Regions from separate parts of the Homo sapiens genome. Here region 2 is linked to region 1. Evidence: promoter capture Hi-C in 16 types of primary human blood cells and fetal thymus (Javierre and others, 2016). All regions are on one chromosome and are shown on one strand. The core of a region is centred on a gene start or on the middle of the fragment in contact, and the rest is flanking DNA. Distances in the headings are between cores, read along the strand shown.

Evidence for each region. The method cuts DNA at HindIII sites, captures the fragments that hold promoters and counts their contacts. A CHiCAGO score of 5 or more calls a contact.
Region 2: a fragment that was not itself captured here is called in contact with the fragment with the promoter of LINC01565 in region 1 in 2 of 17 cell types (erythroblasts and endothelial precursors); the score reaches 6.3 in erythroblasts.

What each region holds. Positions count from the first base shown.
Region 1 is chr3:128,573,703-128,578,595 of GRCh38, reverse strand. It overlaps LINC01565 (long intergenic non-protein coding RNA 1565), which reads left to right and starts at 2,510. Exons shown (of 3, transcript NR_125802.1): 1 at 2,510-2,781; 2 at 3,210-3,330; 3 at 4,293-4,893. The HindIII fragment of the contact is 3,021 bases long and covers 1,989-4,893 here.
Region 2 is chr3:128,200,516-128,205,408 of GRCh38, reverse strand. The region is part of intron 1 of EEFSEC (eukaryotic elongation factor, selenocysteine-tRNA specific); the gene reads right to left. Among named protein-coding and RNA genes, the nearest start is that of EEFSEC, 49 kb to the right of the region's middle. The HindIII fragment of the contact is 2,019 bases long and covers 1,572-3,590 here.

The sequences.
Region 1 (4,893 bases), core at 1,261-3,760:
AGGTGAGGTCACCGCCTGAGGACTGAGTGAGGTCGCCTGGGAGGAGGGGCATGAACCCAGGTGTTTGCTGGGGTGGGCCTCATGGCAGGAGAGGCCTTCGGTGCTGGCTCTGGAACCCTGGGGAGGAGTCTGTGGAGGGAGGGGTGGTGGGGTGGAGGTGCCCTGGGTCAGGGAACAGGGTGGCCAGAGATGCCGAGACAGGAAGAATGAGCAGACCTGGTTCTTCAGGTGTGCCCAGGAAGCACCGTTCTTTCTGACAAAAGTGAAATTAAGGTGCCAGAACTCATTATCTGGCCTTTCTCCGCGTTGCGAGGCCCATCCTTGCTTCTGTGGTGTTATTTTCCCTCTCTCTCTCTCTTTTTTTAAAATAAAAATAACTATGAAGGGTTCAAGGCGCCTTTCTTTCACAACATCTCAGCTCTTAGGTCCCAGCGGTGCATCGGTGGCAAAGAATGTCCCCTGTCACCACGGCTGCTTGCCTTTATTTGAAGTGTCTGGCTGAGCTATCTCCCTGTGACATGCTTCTTTCAGAGCGAATTATTCATCCCCCCACAGCCCCCACCTCTCCCGGCCCTGGGCTCTGTTCATCCCCGCAGGTGTGAAGACAGGCCCGGCCTTTGTGTGTGAGGAGCCTGCCCCCTCCTTGGCTCCCCTCTTGGATCCCCTCCAGGCCTGTCAAGGCTTTCCTCGCTCCAGGCCCTTGCGGTGTGCGGGGCTGATGTCTCCTGTCATCCAGGGAGGGCTGCGCAGCCTCCAGCCCGCCTCTAATCTCCCCCTCCACAAAGGGCAGCCCTGTCACTCAGGGAGGCAGTGGGGGAACCTGGATCCGGGGCCACACAATGAACCATCCACCCTGCCTGAGTAGGAGGAAGCAGCCTAGCAGAGGTGGCTGTTGGGGCAGAGGGCAGGTGGGCAGGGGCCTGGGCAGAGAGGGTGAGAGCTCAGCCATCTTAAGCCACCGAAGTCAGGGAATCAAGCTTATTTTGGTGGAGTACACAAGTGGCATAGGCCAGGTGCAGTGGCTCACATCTGTAATCCCAGCACTTTGGGGGGCTGAGGCAGGAGGATGGCTTGAGGCCAGAAGTTCAAGACTAGCCTGGGCAACATGGCGAGACCCTGTCTCTGCAAAAAATAAAAAAAAAAAGCTGGATGTGGTGGCGCCCACCTATAGTCCCAGCTACTCAGGAGGCTGAGGTGGGAGGGTCACTTGAGCCCAGGAGGTGGAAGCTGCAGTGAGCTATGATTGCACCTCTGCACTCCAGCCTGGGTGACAGAGCGAGACCCTGTCTCCAGCAAACAAATAAATAAAACAAGTGGCACAGAGCAAGCTGGCCAATCCTGGTAGTGCTGGCTAATGGTTAGTGCAGAGGGGGCAGTCTCGGTGGCTGACTTGGAGCCATCCTACAAAAATGAGGGAGGTACCTATAGAAATAGGGTCAGCTTCCCCATCCTCCACCAGACTCCAGAATTCTTCCTCAGCCTCCTGCATTAGTGGTGATGAAAAACCGATGCAGGGATGCAGGGGTGGAGTGAGCAAGCCGAGACCAGCCTGGTGCCCAGGGTCAGGAGCCTGCTCTTTTGAGCCTCAGTCCCCTGTGTGTCCACAGGAAGCACAGTGCCTGCTGCCTGGGGGGGCCTGAAGACACAGGATGGGTCCCCGTTGTGGAGGTGCCCGGGCAGCACCTGCATATAGCAGGTGCTCACTGTTGGTGTTGGCATGGTGGCACAGAGCAGAGGTGGAAAGCAATGTGCCGCCTGCAGACAGGCTTTTGTGACCTACCCCGTGTCTAGAAATGTATCTTCTGAGTTACTAACAAGGAAAAATGTGGCCACACAAGGTCCACCTTACTTCAAGGCATGGCAGGCTGGGTAGAGCAGTGCTGCCCTTGGAGATGGCACAGGGTCCCCCCTGCCTGCACCCCTGGGTTCTCCTCCACCTCCTGCCACTCCCCCTTTGTACACCAGCTGGTGACACTCAGTCACAAGCTTTCGTTGGCTCCTGAGACATTTGAGGTTGAGAGCTCTGGGACCTGGAGCAGACTCGGGTTTGCATCCCACCACTTCATTCGCGACCTGTGTAGTCAACCTTGCTGAGCCTCAGCGTCCTTATCTGTAAAATGGGACTCACGATCTTCACCAAATGAAAACAAGCATACATCACCTGCCCCTGAACCTGGAAGAGAGAGCGGATTCCCAACCAAAGAGAAGACACATTGCTGAGGCTGCCTCACCATGGCTCACTGCTGACAGCATGGTGTGCACTCCACAGGGCTCAGCTTTCCCCGTGGGTGGGCAGCGTGACCCGGGCAAGCAGGCAGGGCTGCCAGGGCCTTGGCCTCGGCCCAGCACGGAGCGGGCAGGGGCTGTGGCCAAGGGTCTCTGGAGGAGGCCACGTCTCTGCAGAGGAGACCCCTCCTGAAACACCCTCCAAGCTGGAAGCTGGCCCCTCAGAGGGGAAAACAGGTGCCGTGGGCGACTCTGAGCTCCCCACTGTAAATTAATCCACCCGAGCAATTGGGAACAGAAAGTGCTTCCTGTCCCGGCCTGAGACAATGGACAATAAACCCAGCCTGCTGGGCCCCGGCCCCTGACCCCAAGGCTTCAGGAAGAGGCTCCCACACGCACACACCTGCGGTGTGTGAAGCTCGCATTGTTCTGGGCTCATGGCCGAGTAGGGCCCCTTGCTCTCAGGAGCCTCCAGCTCTTTCTGGACCTGAGCCCTGGGAGCCTTCACTCTGCCCAGATGTGCTTCCTGTGGAAGGAGACCCCCAGATGACACAGGTGAGCAAGCGTCCTTGGGTTCGGGTTCATTTGATGCGTATTCTTGAAGCCCCTACCACGCACGGGGTCTGCACACCAGCAGCACAGTACAAAGCCTTTCCAGAAAGGCTGTGGTCTCACACCTAGCACCAGACAGCACACGGGCCTGCCCTTCTCCTCCTAGCACACAGACAGGGCCATATACATCCTGCTGGGGAAGGCCCGGTGGAGGCGGCTCCTTGGAGTGAAAGGCCCTGAAATGCCAGAGGCTCCTGGGATGTGAGGTTCCTTCTGGATTTCTGAGGCTGATAACTGAATACTCTCGACTCGAATAGATGATGAGCTTGTGGAACATCGTGTGCATGTGCACGCCACCACGAAGTTAGTAATCAATCTTGCTTGCTGGGGCCATGTGTGTGTCCACATTTTGTCTTTTAATTTTTTTTGAGATGGAGTCTTGCTCTGTCACCCAGGCTGGAATGCAGTGGCATGATCTTGGCTCACTGAAACCTCTGCCTCCCGGTTCAAGCAATTCTCCTGCCTCAGCCTCCTGAGTAGCTGGGATTACAGGTATGCGCCTCCATGCCCAGCTAATTTTTGTATTTTTAGTAGAGATGGGGTTTCACCATGTTGGCCAGGCGGGTCTTGAACTACTGACCTCACGATCTGCTCACCTCAGTCTCCTAAAGTGCTGGGATTACAGGCATGAGCCACTGCGCCTGGCCTCTTGTCTTTTAATTTTATTTTGAGTTGGGGTCTCACTCTGCCACTCCGATTGGAGTGCAGTGGTGCTATCATAGCTCACTGCAGCCTCAACCTCCTGGGCTAAAGCAATCCTCCCACCTCAGCCTCCTGAGTAGCTGGGACTACAGGCATGCACTGCCATTCCTGGTTAGGTTTTAAACATTTTTGTAGAGATGGGGTCTTGCTACGTTGCCTGGGCTGGTCTGAAACTCCTGGGCTCAAGTGATCCTCCCACCTCGGCGTCCCAAATTGCTGGGATTACAGGCATGAGCCCCACACCCACCTCAATGTCTTTTAAAGTCATTAAAAGACAATTATTTTGTCTTTTTTTTTTTGAGACAGAGTCTCTCTCTGTCGCCCAGGCTGGAGTGCAGTGGCACGATCTCGGCTCACTGCAAGCTCCACCTCCCGGGTTCACGCCATTCTCCTGCCTCAGCCTCCTGAGTAGCTGGGACTACAGGCACCCGCCACCACAGCCGGCTAATTTTGTTTTTGTATTTTTAGTAGAGATGGGGTTTCACCGTGTTAGCCAGGATGTTCTCGATCTCCTGACCTCATGATCCGCCCGCCTTGGCCTCCCAAAGTGCTGGGATTACAGGCGTGATCCACTGCACCCGGCCTCATTTTGTCTTTTAATGAATAATGGACTAGCACAGCCTTAGAGAAGGAAAGAGCAGAGGTTCTATGTCCAGTCAGTGGGGAACTGGGAGATTCATTCCGAAAGGCTTTGAGGAGGAACCGGGCCCGGGTCACTCTTTGAAAGGGTGGCTCTCCCATTTTTCCTGCAGAAAATCTGAGCAGTGGGTGAGGCCGAGGGACTGCCCAGAGCCCCAGAGCACGGCAGTGGGCAAGCAGTCGTCCCTGTCCTGGGCATCCCTGTGGCCATGGAGCTCCTGGGTGAGCAGCTGCTCTGAGACAAGTCTGGTGAAGAATACAGCAGGACTCCTGAACATTCTTCCTTAAATGCTTATCTGTGGAAACCAGAACTGCCCTTGGCGCGTGGCTCGTGGACGTGCTGGGTGGCTGGGTGGGGCGGGTGCACGGGTGGAGCCTCAGCTCTGTTTCTTTCTCTGGGTAGTGTCCCCACTGCTGGGCTTCTCCCGCTCTCAGCTCTCTGGGGAGGTCCCCTGTGAAGGGCCTGTCTTTCCTGTCCCCTCCCTCGGATCATTAATGAACCACTCTCTCTCTCTTTTTCCTTTTCAGTGATTGGGCTGTCGGAATCAAAGAGGCCCTCCGGTGACTCAGGCGTTTCCCATTGCCCTATTCTAGCATCCTCTACTCTTAGCACTGAGAGTTTTTCACGTCCTATTTGGAACTGATAGGAAACCCTTTCATTGTTTCGCTACATGGATATTAGCACTGATGAAGGAAGCGCTCCATCAGATAGTG
Region 2 (4,893 bases), core at 1,332-3,831, 370 kb after region 1:
CTTCCCCTCATTAGGCTCAACTTGGCACCCTCTTTCCCTCCCTCCATCTCTGCACTGCTCAGAGGCACTGAAAAGGGGGCTTCTGTGTTTGTCTCCTCAGTAGACTGGGCAGGGGTCTTCCCAGATACATCTGAGTCCCTGAGCTCCACACAGGGCCTACATGGCCCAGAGGAGGGGTCCAATAATGTTCAGGTGACCAGATGAGTGAGCATACAAATGAACCAATCAATAAATGATTAAACAAGGGGATAACTGAATGAAGGAAGGGTGCCTATCCTCACTTTAATTAATTTTAACTAGTTCCTTCAACTAGTTAAAATTCCTTCAACTTTTTGAGCACCAACCTTATATCAAGTCACACAGAATTAGTAAACAGTGAATCAAATCTGCCTTATAACCTACAACTTCACAACTTCAGTTTGAACAACTCTTCTAGGGAAGCCCGTCACGCAGCAGACAAAAGTACCTAATGGGGAAGTGTAACAATTGGGCTCCTTTCTTTTGTATTATCATCCAGGTAAATAAGTCTTTTATAATTCAGTTTTGAACCATTCTGTCACTTGATCAGGCAAAAATGGCTGGGTGGGTCTCAGTGAAGCACCAACTTGGGAGGGTCTCACTGAGCTCGGGAGGGTCTCACTGACGCACAGACTGCTCAGCACACTTACCATGCCCTGGGGAAGGCGGCATCCCAGGAGGGAACCAACACACATCCTGCTGCTGTCCAGGCACTGTGCAACCTGGCTTTGAACGTGGAGATGCTCCCAGGAAAGGAGTGGCTGGGAGCATCGTATTTGTTAATAAGAGATATTGATTCTTAAGAGCAACCCTAGGGAGGCCAGCTGAACACAGAGTAGTTAGACACTGTGACAAACAGCAAAACTCTGAAAGAACCCTACCTCAGACACAAGGAGAGAGAGGGAAATACCTAATCTTACGGCAAGCTAAAACAAGCAAGGAAATTCTGCCAAAAATTAAGAAATAAATGTCATAATTAAAGCAATACAAATATCAGTAACCATAGCAATAATAACAGTTAATATTTATTGAGAGTTGACTATGCAACAGGCTTTGTGTTAAGTACTTTACATACTAATTCATTAATCCTTACAATGACTGTCATAAGTACATACAATATTATTATCCTTATTTTACAGATAAGAAGCTGAGGTAAAAAGTGGGTAAGTCACCAGCTTAAGATCCCAAAACAAGCAAGTGATGGAGCCAGGATTCAAGTAGTATGGTGCTAGAATCTGTGCTCTTAATAGTTTTATTCCGTGACACTGTCCAGAATCTTCTATATTCCTTCCTTACAAAAGTTAACCACTGTTTACAAAGGACTTGTTCCTTGGGAATACATCACTTAATCTTAGAATATGCAAGTCACTGAGAAAATAGGACTCACTTCACAGAGCTGCTTTGCAGCCCACTTAGAGAACTATCTAATACAATACTCCTATAAATAACTCTAGTGTTTCATTTACATTTGGTAACCATGTTTCCTGTTAAGAATTCCTGGGATTATTGATTTATTCCAAAACCAGGTTTCCTATCTAATGGAATGCCAAGCTTGATATTCAACTGGCCAAGTATAACAGTGGCTCAATTATTAAATCAATAAGATAGGTGGTATCAATTAATGGATTATCCTGGAAACTTCTGTTACAACTTTATCCTCAAAGCTCACACTCACTCCAAAATGTAGATATCCTCATGTTGCATGATAAAAAAAGGTAGATACTGCCTGGGAAAAGTCCACCAGCTTTGAGGGCTAGCAGACCTGGCTCCAGCCTCGTTTCTGCCCCTACTCATGTCACCTGCAGCAGATGATTTACTTCCTACAGACCTCCATCTCCTCAGTGCTGTGGACTCACACCTAACACATGCAGGTGATCTAGCCCAGTGCCCGCACACAAGGGAGGTGGCTGACAGTGCTGGCTGACATTTGCCTTCCTTATTCCTGGACTTGTGTCCATCCCCTTCCTCTGCCATCGCCAACACTCATCATCTTCCTCTGCCCAGGTGGAAACAATGACATCACTTTAAGGAAATAGCCTATCATGATTTAAGATCATGAATTAGAACACACCTGAAGGGAAATGTGAATGGCTTGGACTTTGCCATGATATAAGCATCACTAAATGGATAAAAATCAAATCACTTCCGTCAACAAATTCCATTAGGAAGTTGCTGATGAAACAAAGACTTTGCCATTCCTGCTGTTTCACAAATTGTCTCAAATTGCCAACATTTGGGTGTAACCATTCATTTATACTATCTACAATCTGTATTCTACCAACTGATTGATCCATGGGCCAAATAATCCATTCCTGGAAAATAAAAATCTACATGAACATGTTAAAACCATGTTAAAAAATATATTGGGTGAGGCTGAGGTAATGTTTAGAGGGAAATTTATAGCTTTTTATGTTTAATATTCAAAAAAATCAATCAGTATAATTCCCCACACTAACGGAATGAAGAAGAAAAACTATAAAATCATTTCAGTGGATGCAGAAAAAGCACTTGACAAAATTTAACAACCACTCCTGATAAAACCATTCACCACACTAGGAACAGGAGGAATTTCCTCAACACAGTAAAGGATGTGTATGGAAAAACCCACAGCTAACACCATACTTACTAGAGAAATATGAAATGATTTGTCACCATGATCAGAACGAGGCAAGGATGTCCACTCTCACCACTTCTACTCAACATTTTACTGGAAGTTGTAGCCAGTGTAATAAGTTAAGAAAAAGAACATAAAGGTTAGAAAAAGGTATAAAGAGTAGAAACAAAGAAGTAAAACTATCTTTATTCTTAGCTGACATGATTTTTTATGTAGGAAATCCTAAGGAGTCTATAAAACAACCACTAGGACTAATAAGAAGGTTTAGCAAGGTTGCAAGATACAAGATGAATATACATAAACTAATTATGTTAATATATTAGCAACAAATTAAAAATATCATTTATGATAGCATCAAAATACATAAAATACTTAGAAATAAATTTAACAACATATGTACAAGACCTCTATACTAAAAACTTAAAAATACATAAGTGAAGAGATGTGCTAAGTTCATAGATTGGAAAACTCAATATTGTTAAGAGTCAGTTTTCCCTCGATTGAGCTATAGTATAGATTCAATGTAATCCCAATCATAATCCCAGGATTTATTTTTTTTGTAGAAATTGAAAAGCTGCTTCTAAAATTTATATGGAACTACAAAGGATCAAGAATATTCAAAGCAATACTGGAAAAGAACAAAGTTGGAGGACTTACACTACTTGACTTCAAAACTTACTTTATAAAGCTACTAATAAAGACAGTGCGATATTGGTGTGAAGACAGACAAACAAATCAAAGTACAATAGAGTCCAGAAATAGACCTACACTTAAATGGTTATGTGATTTTTCACAAAGGCAACAAAACAATCTAAAAAACTTTTCAAGAAATGATGCACTGGAATAAATGAATAGCCATACGGAAAAAAATCTACTTTGACCCCCATCTCACACCACATACAAAAACTAATTCAAGATAGATTACAGGACTAAATGCAAACGCTAATGTCATTAAGCTTTTTAGAAGGAAACTGAGTAGAATGTCTTCATAACTTGGTGGTAAGCAAAGTTACTTAGAACATAGAAAGCAGTAACTACAACAGAAAAAAGTGATAAATTAGACTTCATCAAAACTTTTGGTTATCAAAAGACACCATTAAGAAAACAAATAGGTAAGCCATAAATTGTCAGAAGGTATTCACGACACATATATCTGACAAAGGACTGATAAGTAGGTTAAAGAACTCCTATAACTCAACAACAAAATAATTTTTTAAAATCTAATAAAAAATAGGCAAAAGATTTGAAAGCTGCTTCACAAAAGAAGATCTACAGATAGCCAATAAACACATTAAAAAGTATTCAATGTTATTAGTCATCAGAGAAATGCAAAATAAAACCACAATTAGATACCACCACAGGATCTCTGCTATGAGATTCTTTTTTTTTTTTCTTAAGCACACCCAGAACTCTGGGTCAGAGATGCCTCACTTCCCATCTCCTATCTCTGCCCCATCCTGTATGTGTACTCATTACCTAGTACCCTGGCAGGAAAGTGAGTGTAGAGCAATTAGAGAGCATGGTGTTGCCCAAAGTATAGGACATACCCTGCCAGATTTTAGGTGACACACACTTTTTTTATTATGGTAGTTAGGTATTTATTTTAATATGCACTGAAGGAAAATGGAATTAGTATTTTAAACTCATTATTTCAAGGCTAATATTACTTAGGAGAAGGTTAAATAAATAGTCTGTTTAAAGTAAACATAATAATAATACTAATAAAGGTGGTGCATGGATAAGATGAAAATTGCAAAGGTGGGGACTGTGACCAACTCAAGTCCAGGATCACCAGCAGCACAGATCACCAGCAGTTAACTACATAATCAACAGCAAACTGTCCCATTCTAGGGCTGTGGGGAACTTTAACTTCTCTCTTCATTGAGCCCTCCACTTGACCCTACAGTGTCACATTCACACAAGTGACCACAGATGTCCTGAAAAAAAGACATCCTAATGAGACAATCTGGGTGGTGTAAAACCAGGACTCTGATTGCAAAGAACAAAGGCTTATTCCATAACAGTCTCACGATTGTTCTGCGGGAAACCTGCATCCAATTCATTTTTGCCCAATTCCATACTGCCAGACATAATTCTCCCCATCGTTTCAGCTAGCATTCTTTCCTTACCTGCCCAAGGCATGGCTGGGGATCTGTAAAAACATGGCCATAAAGAGATTCATGTTAGAAGGCTGGGCGCGGTGGCTCATGCCTGTAATCCCAGCACTTTGGGAGGCCGAGGTGGGCGGATCACCTGAGGTG